4 separate regions of the Homo sapiens genome follow, and regions 1, 3 and 4 are each linked to region 2. The links are contacts of gene promoters, found by promoter capture Hi-C in blood cells and fetal thymus (Javierre and others, 2016). All regions are on one chromosome and are shown on one strand. Each heading gives the region's core, a stretch centred on a gene start or on the middle of the fragment in contact. The rest is flanking DNA. Distances are from core to core; before and after follow the strand shown.

Region 1 (4,535 bases), core at 123-2,622, 480 kb after region 2:
GCAGCGGGCACCTGTAGTCCCAGCTACTCAGGAGGCTGAGGCAGGAGAATCACTTGAACCCAGGATGCAGAGGCTGCAGTGAGCCAAGATTGCACGACTGCAACTTCAGCCTGAGCAACAGAGCGAGACACTGTCTTAAAAAAAGAAAAAAAAAAAAGAGACAGGGTCTCCCTCTGTCCCCTAGGCTGGAGTGCAGTGGCACAACCAAAGCTTGTTATAACCTTGAGCTCCTCTCTCTGCTTCCTTTTTTGTTTGTTTTTTAAAAAAATTTTTGTAGAGACCCCTGTGTTGCTCAGGCTGGTCTCCAACTCCTGGACTTAAGCGATCCTCCTGCCTCAGCCCATGTGCATTTCGAATACCCTAGTAATATATAATGAGATGCTATGTTTGGAAAAGTAAATAATTCCCAACTCTACAAAGGCTGCATTGAAGATGGAGACTTTTATACACTGTTGGTAGGGTAACCTTTCTGGAAAGCTGTTCATGCATGTATTCAGTTTATCAAAGCCTGAAAAAAACTGTTCATACTTTGACTCCATTTTTAGAATATTGTGTTAAGGAAACAGATTTAAACAGAAATTTTTGTATAAAGACCCTGTCACTTGGGTTTATCTAATAGTCTAGTGGAAAGACTCTAATAAGAGTCAGATACTAGAAAATAGTTAACACAGTTTATGGTGCATGCATCCATAGTGTAGAGCATATTTAGCCATTTTTTTATTTTGAAAAAGTTGTTGTAGTTTGGAGAAACATGATTTTAATTTTTAGGCAGGGTATGGAACTATATATAAATGTGATCTTAAATGTGTAAATGTATTTACTAAATAAACTCTGAAGTATCTGCAAAACAAAGTACTAGTAGAAAACACCTAAAATGTTAACAGTGATCATATTTGGGAGGTAGGATTATGAGTGAAGCTTCTTTTCTTTATACTTCTCTATATAATTTCTATATAATTTCATAATGTGTAATATATTAATTATAAAATACACGTTTAAAATGTATTTTTGGACATTTTCTAAACTCGAGAGAGCACATTAGTTAAAAGAAATTAAATATTTTCAATTTCATTTAGGAAGAAGAGCTGAGAAAAGCCATTTTAGTGGTGTTTGCAAATAAACAGGACATGGAACAGGCCATGACTTCCTCAGAGATGGCAAATTCACTTGGGTTACCTGCCTTGAAGGACCGAAAATGGCAGATATTCAAAACGTCAGCAACCAAAGGCACCGGCCTTGATGAGGCAATGGAATGGCAAGTATCATGCTTCCAGAAGCCATCTGTGCATTTGTGTGTGCTTGCAGCTATGCACGTCCACGTGTAATTTTTCTCCCGTGTTGAGGATGAAACTTTGATTTACTTAGCAGCTTATTTCATAAGTTCCTCAAGCGTTTTCTCTCACTGGTCTTCAGGTGCATCTGTCTTCTCAACCACACCTACCTGATTACAGTTACTTAGATAAGCAAATTCTTTGCCAATTTTTAGCCTTTTCCCTGCCTCACCTCACCCTCCAATTCCTTATCCTTCAGGAATTAGCTTAAGACTCTCTTCTGAAGAGCTTTTCCTAATGTATCTCTATTCCTACTGCCTAATCACTCACTTAAAGTTAGATGCCCTTGTCACAGATTAGTGACATAGTACTTGTTTTGCTGTCTTGTAAGTTTGATTTGTTCATCTACTCATTAGATAATCACCTCCTTGAGGATTGAGACTAGTTTCACCTCTGAGTCATCCATATGTAGCCCAGAAGTAGTAGTAGCCTGGAAAATAGGTATTTGGTCTTTTTTGAATTTTTCATTCAAATCATAGACAAATTCAAAGCTTAGAGGAACCTTATGGATATCTAGTGCATAACCTCATCTGTGTTAGCTGTCATCATTTTAAGTACTTTGGAATCCACCTCCAATACAAAGTTTATTATAGATGATCATGCTTTATACCTGAAAATTAATTTTATAAAACAGTTCATTTTCTCTTTACAGGTTAGTTGAAACATTAAAAAGCAGACAGTAATTCAGTCCATTCTTCTCCCCTGAAATGAAGACTACATCACCTCTCTCCCTTTGGAAACAGTCAAGTGTACTTCACACTACTAGATGTTAAAACTATATGATTATTGGCATATACTGACTGACTGCAATATTTGTAGTAAATAGGGAAAATAAGTATTTAGTTGGAGGGATAATTTGATCGAATCACCTGAATGTTCTATGTAATGTAAAATATTCTTTTCTTGCTTTCTTGTGTTAAGGTATATATTCTATTTGTATGGAATTCTTATTCAAATACAGTTCTATTAAAGAGTATACTCCTATTGGATGAAAAAAACCTATTTTTGAATAGTAGTTGCAGCTTGTTTGTATAAATACTAAAAAATATCTTAACAGATTTTTTTCCCCTTAAAATGAATTATCTTTCCAAAGATTAGACTCAGTATGAGAGTAGGTGAGGAACATAGTTTGTGTAATATAATCTTTATTTGCTTACCTGACCACTTTTTATTAAGCTGTTTTGTTTAAAAGCTTTTGGTTATAGGCATGAATATTGTTTTGATGGTTAACTTCACTGACTTATCTGTAAGTGTCATTTTATAGTACTTTACAGTTGTCAAAAAAAATCTTACATATATTGATCTAGTTGATCGGTAGAGGAAGCTTGTGAAGTAGGTAGGACAGGTTATGATGTCTTCACTGTATGGACGTGAACCCAGGGTTCTAATAGGTTGGCTTGCCCAAGGTCACCTGCTAGCTTGTAAGGTAGGAATAGGGCTCAAAGTAAAACTTTTGGTTCAGAAGCTTGACTCATAAACTATACTATATATTCCCAAAAATGTCAGTATTGACAACACAGTCTAACTCTTAAATAAAATTATGCTAATTAGTTACATTCAAAATAATGTTTATAAATTTATTTGTCTATACTAGTAGAAGTGATCAGTGACATACTATAAATAATCCTAAATGGTTATATTTGATAGAATTCATAACACATTAAAGAGAAAATTTCACATTAAAGGAAGGTTTAAAAATCTATTTTCAGATTATAAAAGGTGTCTTTACTGGTTTTCATTCCTTTTATCTACATGTAATTGGACATGTAAACTTGTTAAAAATCAAAATCTTACTGATTGTACAGGGAGAAATTAAGCATTCTGTTTTAAAAATTAGGCTTATTGCTAGACTGTAAGTTTAAAAACAATTCATGTTCAAAGGAGCTTTTCAAATTACCCAGTCCACCACAGAATCAGCTAATGTGACAGAAGTAAATATAGTGCGTCATAATTGCTAAAAACAGGGTGAATTTCTTTCACTTAAGTTGGAAAACCAGCCTCTAAAAAATTAGGTGCTGGTAATGAGAGCTTAATACCATGGTTCCCTGCAGGTCTCAGAAACATTAGTAGTTCCTTTCTTGGCCCTCACTGTCCTTCCAGTGTTGGCCTCTGGCCTCTTCCCCTCACATTTATGTTCATTCTCCGGGCTTATATTCATTCTCTGCTGCTTTCTCCCTTCACCCGTGGGACTCTCACCCTTCTTGCTCATTCTCCAGCACCCATTCCTACTTTAGTCTCTTTGAAATCTTTTTTGGAGATTTTCCTTCAGCTACAAATGTTCCAGTACAACCAATATTACTCCTGAGGGGCAAAGACTTTTTCATATTTATGTCCCTAGTATCTGGTATGGCGCCTGGCATATGGCATTTCAGAATATGTTCATAGTTGAAACAGTAGGATAGATATTTGTCATCTTGACAAGTAGCCCTTTGCAATTTATACTTGAGTTCACTCCTGGTCAATGGCACATGGCTGGAAAATGCAGAAAGCAAGTTCACTTACAGCCTGAGGCTTATAAAGCTTGTACAGCTGCCTCCCGGCAGTCCAGGAAAACTGCAAAAAATGGGAAGTAAGGTCCTGGCAGGCAGACCCGGCATGTAGCCGCTGGCCATCTTGAATCCTAGGGCATGAAGTTGCCCCAAAGTTCAGCACTTGGTTAAGCCTGATCCCTCTGGTTTATCACAAAGAATAGGATGGGATAAAGAAAGTGGACACTTAAATAAGCTATAAATTATATGGTCCTTGTCTAGCAGGAGACAACTGCACAGGTATACTACCAGCGTTTGGATATTGATATATACATGGCAAATCTGAATATTGTTTTATGAGAGGCCTGGCAATGGGTAAAACACCAAACTTGAAATCAGAACATAGGTGCAAATGGCCACTCCTGTAGTTTCTTTTCTGTAAAATGGGATCTGGACGAATGATACCAAACGTTTCTTTCTAACATTGTATTTTATAACTCTGGCCTATGATTGTGTTGTGTCTTGCATTAAAAAAAAAAATTTGAGAGTGGTAGAATTACTTCTGTTATCTGAAATACCTGAGATGCACTTTAAACTGTTGAAATGTAAGCTCTGAGGGCAGGGACCGTATCTTATTTACTGTTAGTATCCGTTGCATCTAGTGTGGTGCACCTGGCACACAGTAGGCACTCAATAAATATGTATTGATTAAAAACAAAGACGTCTTCAATATGCC
Region 2 (4,282 bases), core at 259-2,758:
GGGAGGCAGAGGTTGCGGTGAGCCGAGATTGTGTCACTGCACTCCAGCCTGGGCGACAGAACAAGACTCTGTCTCAAAAAAATAAAAAAAATTTTAAAAAATGCTAGTCCCCTCTTGCTCGATCTTTGTTTCCCCTTTCTCCACACTCCTCACCCCCACCCCCAAAAAAAGGAAAAAAACAAACAAACAAACAAAAAAACACAGAACATTGCTCACCAGACAGAATGGCTGCAGGGAAGAAGACGCCCTACATTTTCTATCATAGCAGTAACAAACCTTGGGTGTCACCAACCTTATCATCCGTTCACCAACCAATGCCTGTCCAGAGGGGTCACACTACTTAGATAAGGATGGATGGTTCTAACGTTTAAAGAATCCTGCCACTATGAGAAAGGCACTGAGCTGGAACCCACATAGGAGGATCAGACCACTGTCCCTGGCACTGAAGTGCCCCTCAGGAAGGTAGAGGCCAAAGCACAGGAAAAGTGAATGGGTAAAATAACACAAAAGATGTCACAAGTTGTTGACAAGTTGAGGACTTTGGGGTCACAGTGCCCAGAGGTGTCTGGTGCAGCTCCAGAGAATTTAAGCCAGACTCCCAGAGACCTGGGGGCAGCACAGTGTTGCTTTCTGCATGGCCGGGTGTGAATTCTGCTCCTACCATTAACTAGTGTGACATCAGTGTCACGTTGATGATATTTCATCAACTTTACACCACCGCTCGCTTGCGGGAATAATAAGCCCAAACATCCACTTCAAGGGATGTTGGGATGCAGAAGTGAAAATAGTGGCTGTTTAGCATATACCTGGATCTACCTCTTGTATAATATATGTCATCTATCAGAACCCATCTTGTTTCAATATCGCCTAAGAACGTCCTGCTGAGATTCTGTCCCATACCCAGAATGAAAGCTCTACCATCTATCCTGAACCTCTCCTTGCTGCCACCCTGTTCCATGCTCCGGGTACAGGCAGAAGTGCTCAGCGCCGCACCCGCTGCCTCCCTAAACATCCCAGGCTATCGGGAGCACCTCTCCTCCTGCTCCCACCTCTGCCTGACCACACGACGCCCCAAGCTGGGTCCGGACGCCTTCCCTCCCCGTCGGCAGCGCTCCCTGTGGTCCCTGTGCCTGCTCCTGGGGCCCTGACGCCCACCCTGCCACTCACCTGATATACGGGAGGAAGGGGTTGACGTGCCCGGAGAGCACGGCGACCACGTAGGAGATAATGAAGGCGGCTGACGACCAGGTCACCAAGAGGAAGGGGACGAAAGCCATTCCCCTCAGGAAGCACAGCATCGCGCCGCCGCCGCCGCCGACGGAGTGCTGCGCCCAGCGGGGCCGGGCGCCGGGTTGCTCCGGGCTGCCTGGAGGCGGCGGCCGGGCGCGTACACTCACGGACGGTGGGAGGGGAGGCTCCGCGACGGCCGGGGCAGGCCCAGCCCCGGAGGGAGGGGAAGCGCGAGGAGCGGAGCGAGGCTGCGGGCGGCGAGGCTGCCGGGCCAGAGTGGGTGGGGCGCGGGCTGCCCGGGCTTGTTGCGAAACGAGTGAAGTCACAAAGCGGCCCGGCAGGGTCGGAGGCGCCCGGCGAGCTCCAAGCGGACGCGACTACGGAGCCGCCGGAGGGGACGCGGGGTCGGGTTCCTTTCGCTTTTGGTTTGGACACTCGGCGGAGGCCGGGTTGGGCGCGGACGGGCGGCGTGGGGTCACTGGCGGGGACGCCCGCTCTGGCCTTCCCACTCTGGCCCTACCGCGCTGGCTCTTGCGCAACTCTGGAGAAAAGGATTTATTTCTCCCAACCCCTCCCTCCCGGGGGATTTCCGGAGTGCCGGGCCTCGCACCCCGAGGGCGCCCCCTCCGAGGTCCCGCCGCCGGCGCTTCGCAGCAGTGAGAGTGGCCACCGCGTGGTGACACCCATGCCATCCGGTCGCGCTGCTGCTGCGGGGGTCGGGCAGAAGTGTTCAATGAGGTTCGCCAGGTCACGGGGCGCAGATGTGGCTCCCACCTCAATGGTGAACACCCGAAAACCCAGACAGGGTGGGAACGGGTGGGGTGGAGAGTACGCGGGTGGGGTGCGGGGCAGGCGGGTGGGACTGCGCGCCCACGGAGCCGGGAGGCCCATTGTGCTGCTTTCCAGGAGAGCGCAACTGGAGAATATTTCCTGGAAATAAGATTTCCCAGGCCGGGCGCCGTGAATAGCCATCACTTTGGGAGGCATCCAAAAGCCATCACCCCTGGAATGCCACCACTTTGGGAGGCCGAGTTGGGAGGATCGCTTGAACCCAAGAACTAGAGATCAGCCTGGGTAACATAGCGAAACCCCTCTTCTACAAAAAAAAAAAAAAAAAATGAAAAAGAAAAAAAGCCGGTTCCAGTTACTCGGGAGACTGAGTTGGGATGATCACTTGAGCCTTGGGGGTCGAGGCTGCAGTGAGCCTTTATCACACCACTTCACTCGGCCTGGGTGACAGAGCAAGACCTTGTCTCAAAAAACAAACAAACAAAAAAAAAACAAAAAAAACTCCCCTCCAGGTTCTGGAGTAGCCCAGACTCGGAGCCTTGGCCTAAGATGATTAATAGTGACTTGATACATTTCAAGCCCTGTGAAAGGGATTTGTGTTCTGGAGGCACTTATAATATAAGCACATGATTTTGATAGTTTAGGGAGTCTGAGCCCAACATATGTGGCCAAAATTGTTGGGTCATTGGTGACCAAAGATAGGTTCCTTTCAGCCACAAACACATTTCATGGGCGCCATGCTAGGCTACAAAGATGAAATAGTAATAGTACCCTCAGGACGAGGACACTCATAGATCAAAATAACAAAATTAGGCCAGGCGTGGTGGCTCATGCCTGTAATCCTAGCACTTTGGGAGGCCAAGGTGGGTGGATCACCTGAGGTCAGGAGTTCGAGACCAGCCTGGCCAACATGGTGAAACCCCATCTCTACTAAAAATACAAAAAATTAGTCAGGCATCATGGCTCACGCCTGTAATCCCAGCTACTCAGGAGGCTGAGGCAGGAGAATCGCTTGAACCTGGGAAATGGAGGTTTTCTCAGTGAGCTGAGATCACACCACTGCATTTCAGCCTGGGTGAGAGAACGAGACTCTGTCTCAAAAATATAAATAAATAAAAACAAAATTATGTTATGTGGTTTATTAAATGGAAAGGAGAGGATTTTAAAAAGTAGAGACATGCCCAGAGCTGAGGGCCAGGGGCCTGGGCTCAGAGGAAGGACCACGGAGGTTTTCTGACAGATGACATCAGAGTTTTCAAAAGGAAGTAATTACTAACCAGGCAAAGAAAAATAAGATTAGCATTCCAGGCCCAGAAAACAACTGGAGGAAATGCATACACAGAGCTTGCTTCCCTGGGACTATGAAAGCACTTAAATAAGTGTGAGGCAGCAAATGGAGAGAGAAACAAAGAGGCAAAGTCACCAGAGTCCTGCTGAGAATCTTGGATTATTTTTGGTATTAAGGAGAAAGTAAGAACATGGGCAGACTAGTATTTCAAGAGATCACTGTGGCCGTGGAGTGAGTGCCCGCCATACAAAACAAAATAGAAAATTTAAAATAAGGCTTTTTAAAAACCACAAAAGCTGGCCAGGCATGGTAGCTCACAGTTCTGTAATCCCGGCGCTTTGGGAGGCCGAAGCCTGGACAATATAGTGAGACCCGCAACCATATCTACAAAAAATTTAAAAATTAGCTGGGTGTGGTGTTGCATAACCTGTGGTTCCAGCTACATGAGAGGCTTACGTGGGAGGCTCACTTGAGCCCGGAGTTTGAGGCTGCAGTGAGCTATGATCACACCACTGAACTCCAGCCTGGATCACAGATCGAGACTCTATTTCAAAAACAAATAAAAATTTAAAAATGGTCAGGTGCAATGTAATCCCAGCACTTTAGGAGGTTGAGGCAGGCACATGACCTGAGGTCAGGAGTTCGAGACCAGCCTGGCCAATATGATGAAGCCCTGTCTCTACTGAAAATACAAAAATTAGCTGGGCATGGTGGTGCGCGCCTGTAATCCCAGCTACTCGTGAAGCTAAGGCATGAGAATCGCTTGAACCTGGGAGGCAGAGATTGCAGTTGAGCTGAGATTGCAGCCACTGCACTCCAGCCTGGGTAATAGAGCGAGACCCTGTCTTAAAAAAAAAAAAATGGCCAGGCACAGTGGCTCACGCCTGTAATTCCAGCACTTTGAGAGGTGGAGGCCAGTGGACCATGAGGTCAGGAGTTTAAGACCAGCCTGGCCAACATGGTGAAACCCCGTCA
Region 3 (4,774 bases), core at 1,074-3,573, 260 kb after region 2:
GATGTTCATCCTCCTACCCAGCACACATGTTGAATGGAAATAAAAATCTATCCAGATTACCATTGAATGGTCAGCAGCTAAGCCAGCATGGAAATTCAACTGCTCATTCATTTTGCAAGTATTCATTAGATGATTGCTATGTGCAGCTCTCTGCCAGATGCTGGAGGGAATAAGATGAGGGGGCCAATGTCAAAAAGCTTACAACCTGTTAGGAAAAGGAGTCAACCATTAATGTGCGATTATGTGGAGACAAGAGTGATTGAATGATGGAGGCAACAGGTCCAAGAGAAATCAGGAGAAAGAAGGGGAGATAAAAGTAAGCCAGGATGGTCAGGAGAAAGCTGTTCAAAGAAGTGAAACCTGAGTTGGATGGTTAAAAAAAAAAAATAGACTGACAGTTGGAGGAGGGAGGGAGAGCAGGAGAGTTCTAGCTCATGCTGGAGAAAAGGTAGGTTGCACCCATCAATCCTGTTTATGCTCGTGCAGGGCTCCTTTCTCAACTGGGGATATCCAAGTAGCAGTAATTATTGTGTCTACTTTTTGCATAGGTATTTTCTCTGTCCTTGATGAAGAGGACTGTATATTTATTATAAACTTCCATTCACTTACCTTCTTTATTTAGGGATGTCACTTTCTATCCCAAATTGATTTGCTTCCTAGGTATGTAAGGCAAATACATATATATATACATGTATTTGCCATTATATAATATATATACAGACACACACACACACACACACACACACACACACACACACACGGCAGTTTTTGTACCTGGGCATGCAACTGCATGTGGTCATGGTTTTGCTTATCTTCTGCAAACGTCAGAAAAATGCTACTAATTTCAAAATGCCCTAGTCATCTAGCCTTGCTCTTTCATCACGCTGTGTTCTCCATAAATAAAAGAGTTTTTGTTGGTTGGTTGACTTTAAGGAAAGACATTTTCTCATTTAAGCATACAAGTATAATATGGTGACTTTTCAAATTAAGGGTCAGGCACAGGCTTTGTTTAAACTTTGACAGCTTGCCCTCTGGGATTACATCATCTGCTCTGTTGGTTGAGCCTTGCAGCCTGGCCCAAACACCTTTCCAAATTTGGAAACAGAGGTGTATGCCCATTGGCCTTGTAGAGAATAATATTACAATAATTTCAGCCAGGATGCCCAAACCTCCTTGAAACCATCCCATGGAAGGAGTTCTAGGAGTTTGCACTGTCTGCATTCCATAAGCAAATAACCTTCAAACTGCGCCCACGTGGCCAGGATTAGTATTCATGTTACTCTCCATGGGAGCCACTGAAGGTCAAGGACAAAGTGAGTATACTAACGTTATGCGTTCATTATGAGAGCATAAGTTCAAGTTAGCTGAAGGAAAGTAATCCAATCTACTGAAAGAAAGAAAAAAGTATTTTACTAATGTATAGGACACAAGAATATCATAGAAATTAGATAATGAAATATGACACATCAAGAACAAAGAGATACTTAACATGGTTTTGAGCAGTGTCCAGGAAAAAGAGAAACTTCTTGTTGCAGTCAGGAAATAGTTATTCCAAAATTTAAACTTTTTTATTCATTATGCAAATAAAAGGTTCACTTTTAAAATGACAATACAAACATATACAGCAAAGCTGTCTAATCCACCTTCATGAAACTTCCCTCTATGAAAGACTAATGCTCCTTAGCTTAAGACAGATGGTCAGTAATGATAATCATTTCTTCCATGGTGAGACAAAGGAATTAGCATTTCATGGAGTAACAGAAGTATATGATTAAGATTATTTTCTAAAATGAGACTATCTCCATATAAAGTAAAAATAGGATAATATTACAGGAATAGTTTCCAGTTCAAGAAGGGGCAACATGTCTTCTTAATGTTATATTGTGTATCTGTAGAAATCATTATATAAATCTACATGAATACATAGTCAGTGTTACAAAGTGAGATGCTAGCCTTCAAAATTATTAGTGAACCCTGGAACAGTTCACACAATAACATGAAAACATTTAATTTAAAAAAAAACCGGGTAATTCAGATAATTTTCCCAATTGATATAATCCTAAGAAGACCAAACACCTCTCTTTCTTAGCATGCATGTCGAAACTTGGAAACTACCAATTAATTTGCTGGCATCTCAACAAGTGCTTGTGATATTTTTATCATTGTTGTTTTTCTTTTAGAAATACATGTAATGGAAACTTAGCAATGCACCATTTGTCATTATACTGATTGGGACTTGCAGATAAGATGCAAAGGCAGAACGAAAGATAATGCAGAGAAATTCTATGGAGCCACCATGACAATCATTACTGACTTCTTTCTGCTTCTAATTTTGTTGACTTCAGCCTCACTCTCCCTCCCTCCAACTCACCTTTTGCTGGTGTAGTTCCGGCCTCCTTCTCTTTACTTGGTTCTGTGTAGAAAGTACAAGCATATTTTTTAAAGTGCCTTAAAGCATTTTATTGTGTGATGAGCAACGGGGTGGAGAGGGGGAGGGAAGAAATAAATGACAGCAGAACAGGTCATAAATGATACTGAATACTCGTGCTGTACATGAATTATGAATTTAGAAATTATAACTTAGAGCCACACTAAACTTTTAGTGAAAAGCAATTAATCTGATCATTTTTGGAAAAGTACACATAAGAACACTCAATACAGATTTTGTTAAAATGCACTCAACTATACTTGGATCATGTTATATAACATGCTGGAGTAGAATTAGGCAAAACAAATGTGAGCCACTTTATTTTAGACCTCAGCAAGGGACTGACTTTTTAAAGAAAAGTCAGTTTGCCCCATGTAATGATTCCAAGAGTTTGGACTTCTAGATTTTCTAGTAAAGTACAAAATATGTAATTGTGTGCAGTGTATGTTGCTTCAAAGAAAATGTTTCAGTGTCCATGTGAATCTTCTGGATTGGGTTTAGTGGCAATAAATGCAAAACAAGAGCAGTAACATCAGATTCTACCAGTTGAGACCATCTAGTTTGCATTTCTCTGTGTTTGGGATCATATTAGTTTAGACCTGCAAATGGTATCTGACTTATGGAATCAGTAAGAAAAGAATTGTTTCAAGAATGCATTCTCTTTTTTCGGACTGATGAATGGAGATTCAAATCTCAGTTAACTAAGAAGGACAATTTTAGCAGAATTTGGGAGGAGACATTTGAGCAACAGGAAGTCAATATTGTGCAATGAATATGAAATATGACATACAAAGGAAACGATAGTGGCTCAGTGGCAGTAACTGATCTGAAAAACAGAAGGGAAAGGTTTGTTTATAATGGCCAGTAGGTTCTCAGTGTACTCAATGTTGGTCAAAGTACATTTGTTATGGGCAAGGAGAAAACATACCAAGGAACAGGAAGATCCTAAGAAGAATGTCACACATCTACACTAGTTTCAAGATCAAGATCTAAAGAAAATAAATCTGAGCTTTCCCGTTTGAACTCATATGGCACTGAGCCAGTTTTCGTTCATTTCGACACATAGTAATACTTCTCTATACTGTTTAGGGTTTGAGTGTGTGAATCTAGTATTCTTAGCTGGACAAAGGGCCTCTTGTGAGCAGCTAGATTTCTCAAACTGCCCTCCTGAAAAACAATCTCTGCTTGCGCCCAAGAGTTTGAGGCTGCGGTGAGCTGTGATGGTGCCACTGCGCTCCAGCTTGGATAACAGAGCAAGACCCTGTCTCAAGAAAGAGAAAGAAAAGAAAAAAGAAAACAAAGAAAAAAGAAAAACGATCTCCAGGGAGGAAGAGGAAGAGCTTTATAATTGCCTCATAAGTTTTTGTGTGAAAAGATGATTAGAAACTGAGACCTTCTCCAAACTCCTGCTTTCACCTAAGCTGGACCAGGTCTACAGTCACCTGCTGGCTTCATAACACATTGCCAGTTTAAGCAACTCACAAGTAATCACATACTGCTTGGTGTGGGGGGGCGGGGGGGGGGCGGGGGGTTCTTATAATATTGCCTAATGTTTTAATGTTTTGGCTGCATTTTATTTAATTGTTTCCCAGGCTGTATTCTATTTTCTACTTGGCTGCAAACAAACTGAATACAGGGAGATGTTTTCTATGTAGAGTTCCCCACTACATCTGGTACAATATGCTTGCACCTAGCTATCAATACGTACATGATAGGTATGTCTGAATCCCTCTGAAGGGTTAGGTCAGAGTTGTGCACAGGGTAAATACCTAGTGAATAATTATTGAGTGGGATGCCAGTTTCTCATCCTTTTCAAGGAGGAAGAGGGATGAGGAAGGCCACTTTGGAGTCTTTATGGGAAAATGCACATGATTTTGGTTGCTTCCATCTTGGGGCTATTTGGCTGATAAATGACTCTGAAGAGCCATGTTGGGAGTTTAAGCCACATTGAGCTTTCAATCTTTTAATCTTTTAATTTTCTTTTCTTCTTTAGGTGTATGTGGACATAAAAACAAGCTTCATATATTGTGTGTCATAGGGGACTGCCCTACCTGCCAAGGGTCTCACTGGATCTCTGTACTCATTTCCTGTTGCCAGCTGGTGGACAATATGGTGCTAAGAACTCAAGAAGTTGGTCCTCACGTTGAACCTCAGAGGTCACCAAACCTTTCTGGATAGCTGCTAGGGAGTTTCTGGAGGTGCTCAATAGTGACATATGTCAAGTTGAGAAGGGACAGCTGATCTTCCAGGGTAGAGATGGATCCACTCCCCACTCTCATAAAGAAGATGTGGGTTTGTTTGACCTTCACTATATAGGAAAAAGCCTCACAAATTCTTCAGCCCCTT
Region 4 (4,415 bases), core at 1,313-3,812, 450 kb after region 2:
CTTGAAAAGGTGAGTTGGATTTATATGGAGGGAAATGAATAGAGAAAGCATCTCAGGAAAGAGAAGCAATATACAGAACTTTATAGCATCAGTCATGAAAAAGACAATAAATAGACCAGAGAACATAGAACTTCGTAATTACTTCAATAGTTGTCTTAGTCTGTTTTCTGTTGCTTAAAACAGAATAACTGAAAGTGGGTAATTTATAAGAAAAGGAATTTATTCCTTATAGTTATGGAGGCCGAGAAGTCCAAGGTCAAGGGACCATATCTGGTGAGAGCCTTCTTGCTGGTGAGGACTCTCTGCAGACTCCCAAGGCTGTGCAGGATGTCTCATGGTAAGGGGACTGAGTATGCTAGCTCAGGTGTCTCCCTTTTCTTAGAAAGCCACCAGTCCTACTCTCATAATAATCCATTAATTCATGAATCCGTGAATCCAGAAATGGATTAATTCGTCATGAAAGCAGAGCCCTCATGGCCCAGTCACCTCTTAAAGGCCCCACTTCTCAATACTGCCACACTGGGGATTAAATTTCAACATGATCTTTGAAAGGTAGAAAAAGGTACAAATATTCATGCATTAGCATCCCCTGGGAGCTTGTAGAAATGCAGAATCACAGTCTGATTGTGCATGTTCAAGGTCTTTGGTGCTTTTTTTGTTTGTTTTTTTGTTTTGTTTTTTTAGAGATGCAGTCTCGCTCTGTCACCCAGGCTGGAGTGCAGTGGCACCATCTCGGCTCACTGCAAGCTCCACCTCCAGGTTCACGCCATTCTCCTGCCTCAGCCTCCCGAGTAGTTGGGACTACAGGCGCCCGCCACCACGCCCAGCTAATTTTTGTATTTTTAGTAGAGACGGGGTTTCACTCTGTTAGCCAGGATGGTCTCGTTCTCCTGACCTCGTGATCTACCTGCCTCAGCCTCCCAAAGTGCTGGGATTACAGGCTTGAGCCACCTCGCCCGGCCAGGTGCTTTGTATGTAGACATTAAAGTCTGAGGAGTTTCACTCTTGACCAATCCTTCATTTTGCAGAGGAATCTGAACCACAGAGTGGCTGGATGGCTTTCCCAATGGTAATGGCAAACCTCACTATAGAAGCAAAATCTACAGAGTCCTGGAAACAGTGAGTTTCCCCCCGATTCCACAATGTTTGACTGAACTGGAGAGAGGTAGTCAGTTGGATCTGATTATGGAAGTATCTGAATGCTAAGTTAAGAAATTCAAGCCTCATCCTTCATGAATTCAACAAACATTTATTGAACTCCAGTGTGGTAGCACTGGAGATACAGAGAAGAATAAGAAAGACGCTGCCCTTAAAAAGTTAGCCTTCTAAAAAAGTAAGTAACTGCTATTATTTAAATGTTCCTGCCAAAACTCATGTTCAAATGTAATTGCCAGTCGGGCGCGGTGGCTCACGCCTGTAATCCCAACACTTTGGGAGGCCGAGGTGGGCGGATCACGGGGTCAGGATTTCGAAACCAGCCTGGCCAATATGGTGAAACCCTGTCTCTACTAAAAATACAAAAATTAGCTGGGTGTGGTGATGGGCGCCTGTAATCCCAGCTACTTGGGAGGCTGAGTCAGGAGAATTGCTTGAATCTGGGAGGAGGAGGTTGCAGTGAGCTGAGATCACACCATTGCACTCCAGCCTGGGTGACAGAGTGAAACTCCAACTCAAAAAAAAAGTGTCATTGCCATTATAACAGTATTAAGAGGTGCTGTTAGCTGGGCACAGAGGCTCATGCCTGTAATCCCAGCACTTTGGAAGGCTGAGGCAGGAGGATCACTTGAGGCCGGGAGTTTGAGACCATCCTTGGCAACATAGCAAGACCTTGCCTCAAAACAAAACAAAACAAAAAAGAGGTGCTTTCTCTTTTTTTTTTTTTTTGAGATGGAGTCTTGCTCTGTCACCCAGGCTGGAGTGCAGTGGTGTGATCTCGGCTCACTGCAAGCTCCGCCTCCCAGGTTCACACCATTCTCCTGCCTCAGCCTCCCAAGTAGCTGGGACTACAGGCACCCGCCACCACGCCTGGCTAATTTTTTTGTATTTTTAGTAGAGACGGGGTTTCACTGCATTAGCCAGGATGGTCTCAATCTCCTGACCTCGTGATCCGCCTGCCTCGGCCTCCCAAAGTGCTGGGATTACAGGCGTAAGAGGTGCTTTCTTTAAGAGGTAATTCAGTCACGAGAGCTCTGCCATCATAAATGGATTAATGCTATTATCTCAGGAGTGGGCTCCTGATAAAGGATGAATTCAGTTCTATTTCTCCTCTTGTTCTCATAAGCTTGCTTAACCTTCTGCCATGTTATGATGCAGCACAAAGGCCTCGCCAGAGGCAATGCCAAGCTCTTGGACTTTCCAGTCTCCAGAACTGTGAGAAATTAATTTGTTTTCTTTATAAATTACCCAGCCTGTGGTATTCCATTATAGCAGCAGAAAACTGATTAAGATAGTAACCAACAATTACGAACATCCTTGGCAATGAGTTTTAAAGGTTTCTAATAGAGAAATTAACATGATATATTCTGTGAACATGTATTGAGTACCTAGTACAGGACAGACTTTATTAGATGCAAAGTGGTGGTATTCAAAGGTATTTGAGGGTGAGGAAAAATAGGCTACTGTCCGAGAGTAGGAGATAAAGGATGAATGAACAAGATTTGGTCACTGTGAGGCCAGAGAAAGGCCCTCTGCATTAACCCATAGGTGGCAAGGAGAGGTAGAATTTGGCTCATTGAGCAGAGAAATAAGAAAGTTGGGAGAGTAAATCAGATTTTTAGAGTTGTGTTTGTTTTACTTTTTAGTTAGCAAAAAGGTATGTTTGGTTTTAGACATATGAAGCTTGAGTGAATATCCCATAAAGAACTCTCTAGTAAGTAGTTGGAGATTCAGAACAGAAGCTTGAGAGAAAATCAGGACTGGAGAAAGGGTTCATCAGATGTTTTTGTTCATAAGAATCCATTTTCTTTGGGAGGCTGAGGCAAGAGGATTGCTTGAGCCTTGGAGTTCAAAGCTGCAGTGAGCTATGATAGTGCCATACATCCCAGCATGGGTGACAGAAGGAGACCCTGTCTCTTAAAAAAAAAAAAAAAGAAAGAAAGAAAAAAAGGCCAACAGTTCATTTTAATCACTGGTAAGTCAATAGGACTGATTGGGCAGTTTCAAGTTGTTGATTGGTTAGATATATTTCATTTGCTTTTATTTATTTATTTAGAGACATGGTGTCACTCACTGGTGCAGCCTCAATCTCCCCAGCTCAAGTAATCTTCCTGCCTCATCGTCCCAAAGTGCTGGGACTACAGGCATGCACCACCACGCCTGGCTTTGTTTGCCTTTAAATAAAGTTCCAAAGCCTTTGCTTTCTCAGCTACAACTAACACAGTTATGTTTAATTATAACAATCGTTATGTCACTTTTGGGACTCAGAAAACAATATCTGGCTGAGTATAGTCGCTTATGCTTGTAATCCAGCACTTTAGGAGGCTGAGGCGGGCGATTGCTTGAGGCCAGGAGTTCAAGATCAGCCTGGGTAACACAGCAAGACTCTGTCTCTACAAAAACAAAAACAAAATAGCCAGGCATGGTGGCATGTGCCTGTAATCCTAGCTACTTGAAGGCTGAGGCAGGAGGATCACTTGAGGCCAGGAGTTTGAGACCAGCCTGGCAACATAGTGAGACCCCGTCTCTACAAAAAAAATTTAGAAATTAGCTGGATGTGGTGGTGTAGTAGTTTCAGCTACTTGGGAGGCTGAGGTGGGAGGTTCGTTTGAACCTGGGAGGCTGAGGCTGCAGTGAGCCGAGATCATGCCACTGCACTCCAGCCTGGGTGACAGAGTGAAACCCTGTCTCTTAAAAAAAACACAATACCCCCAAAATGAAGGCCTCAGAAGCAAAACTTTTTGTCTTTCTCCTGATGTTCTTTCAGTCTCATTCTCCCCAAAAACTAGCCATAGAAACCAGAATCCCTCTTCCCAAGGCAGATCATAGAAATCAGAACCCTTTTTCCCCAAAGCCAGCCATAAAACCTAAAAAGATTACTTTTATTTTCCTTCTATCTTTCTGTGTAAAAATTGGCCAAAAAAATTTATCTGAGCTATCTTCTTTGACTATTGATCCTAAGACCCTCCATTCCAGAGAGGGTCCTGCCCCATAACCAGAAAAAAAAAATACCCAGAGAGGCTGAAAAGAATCTAGACACACAGGCATTTCTGGGTGTCCTACTCAGGCTATTAGCATTAGGTCATAACCTTTTTGTCCAATCACATTTCTACACCACTGTTCTAGTTTGTAAACCTAAACATTAAAGGACAATTTTCCCTGTATTTTTGGATCTTCATTCTAAAGGCTTCTGTGTATACATGTTAAATAAATCCGTATGTCTTTTCTGTTTTTGTTTTTCATTTATTTTATTTTATTCT

The links. Contacts are between HindIII fragments. The CHiCAGO score rates a contact against its expected background, and 5 or more counts as called.
Region 1: a fragment that was not itself captured here is called in contact with the fragment with the promoter of DRAM1 in region 2 in 2 of 17 cell types (monocytes and total CD8 T cells); the score reaches 8.1 in monocytes.
Region 3: a contact is called between a fragment that was not itself captured here and the fragment with the promoter of DRAM1 in region 2, in 1 of 17 cell types (monocytes). The highest score is 5.5, in monocytes.
Region 4: a fragment that was not itself captured here is called in contact with the fragment with the promoter of DRAM1 in region 2 in 1 of 17 cell types (monocytes); the score reaches 5.7 in monocytes.

The regions. Positions count from the first base shown.
Region 1 is chr12:101,393,119-101,397,653 of GRCh38, reverse strand. ARL1 (ARF like GTPase 1) reads left to right here. Exons shown (of 6, transcript NM_001177.6): 5 at 1,077-1,255; 6 at 1,984-4,535. The coding sequence ends at 2,014. Among named protein-coding and RNA genes, the nearest start is that of ARL1, 12 kb to the left of the region's middle. The HindIII fragment of the contact is 904 bases long and covers 921-1,824 here.
Region 2 is chr12:101,874,806-101,879,087 of GRCh38, reverse strand. DRAM1 (DNA damage regulated autophagy modulator 1) reads right to left here and starts at 1,508. Exons shown (of 7, transcript NM_018370.3): 1 at 1,168-1,508. The coding sequence starts at 1,298. RefSeq lists enhancers at 622-671, 812-901, 540-1,321, 1,482-1,531, 1,322-2,104 and silencers at 1,122-1,461, 1,712-1,871. The HindIII fragment of the contact is 18,310 bases long and covers 1-4,282 here.
Region 3 is chr12:101,614,841-101,619,614 of GRCh38, reverse strand. MYBPC1 (myosin binding protein C1) reads right to left here. Exons shown (of 32, transcript NM_002465.4): 3 at 2,372-2,413. It overlaps LOC105369938 (a long non-coding RNA gene), which reads left to right and starts at 3,831. Exons shown (of 5, transcript XR_001749279.2): 1 at 3,831-3,912; 2 at 4,422-4,774. The HindIII fragment of the contact is 4,247 bases long and covers 200-4,446 here.
Region 4 is chr12:101,425,474-101,429,888 of GRCh38, reverse strand. No RefSeq gene overlaps it. Among named protein-coding and RNA genes, the nearest start is that of ARL1, 20 kb to the right of the region's middle. The HindIII fragment of the contact is 557 bases long and covers 2,284-2,840 here.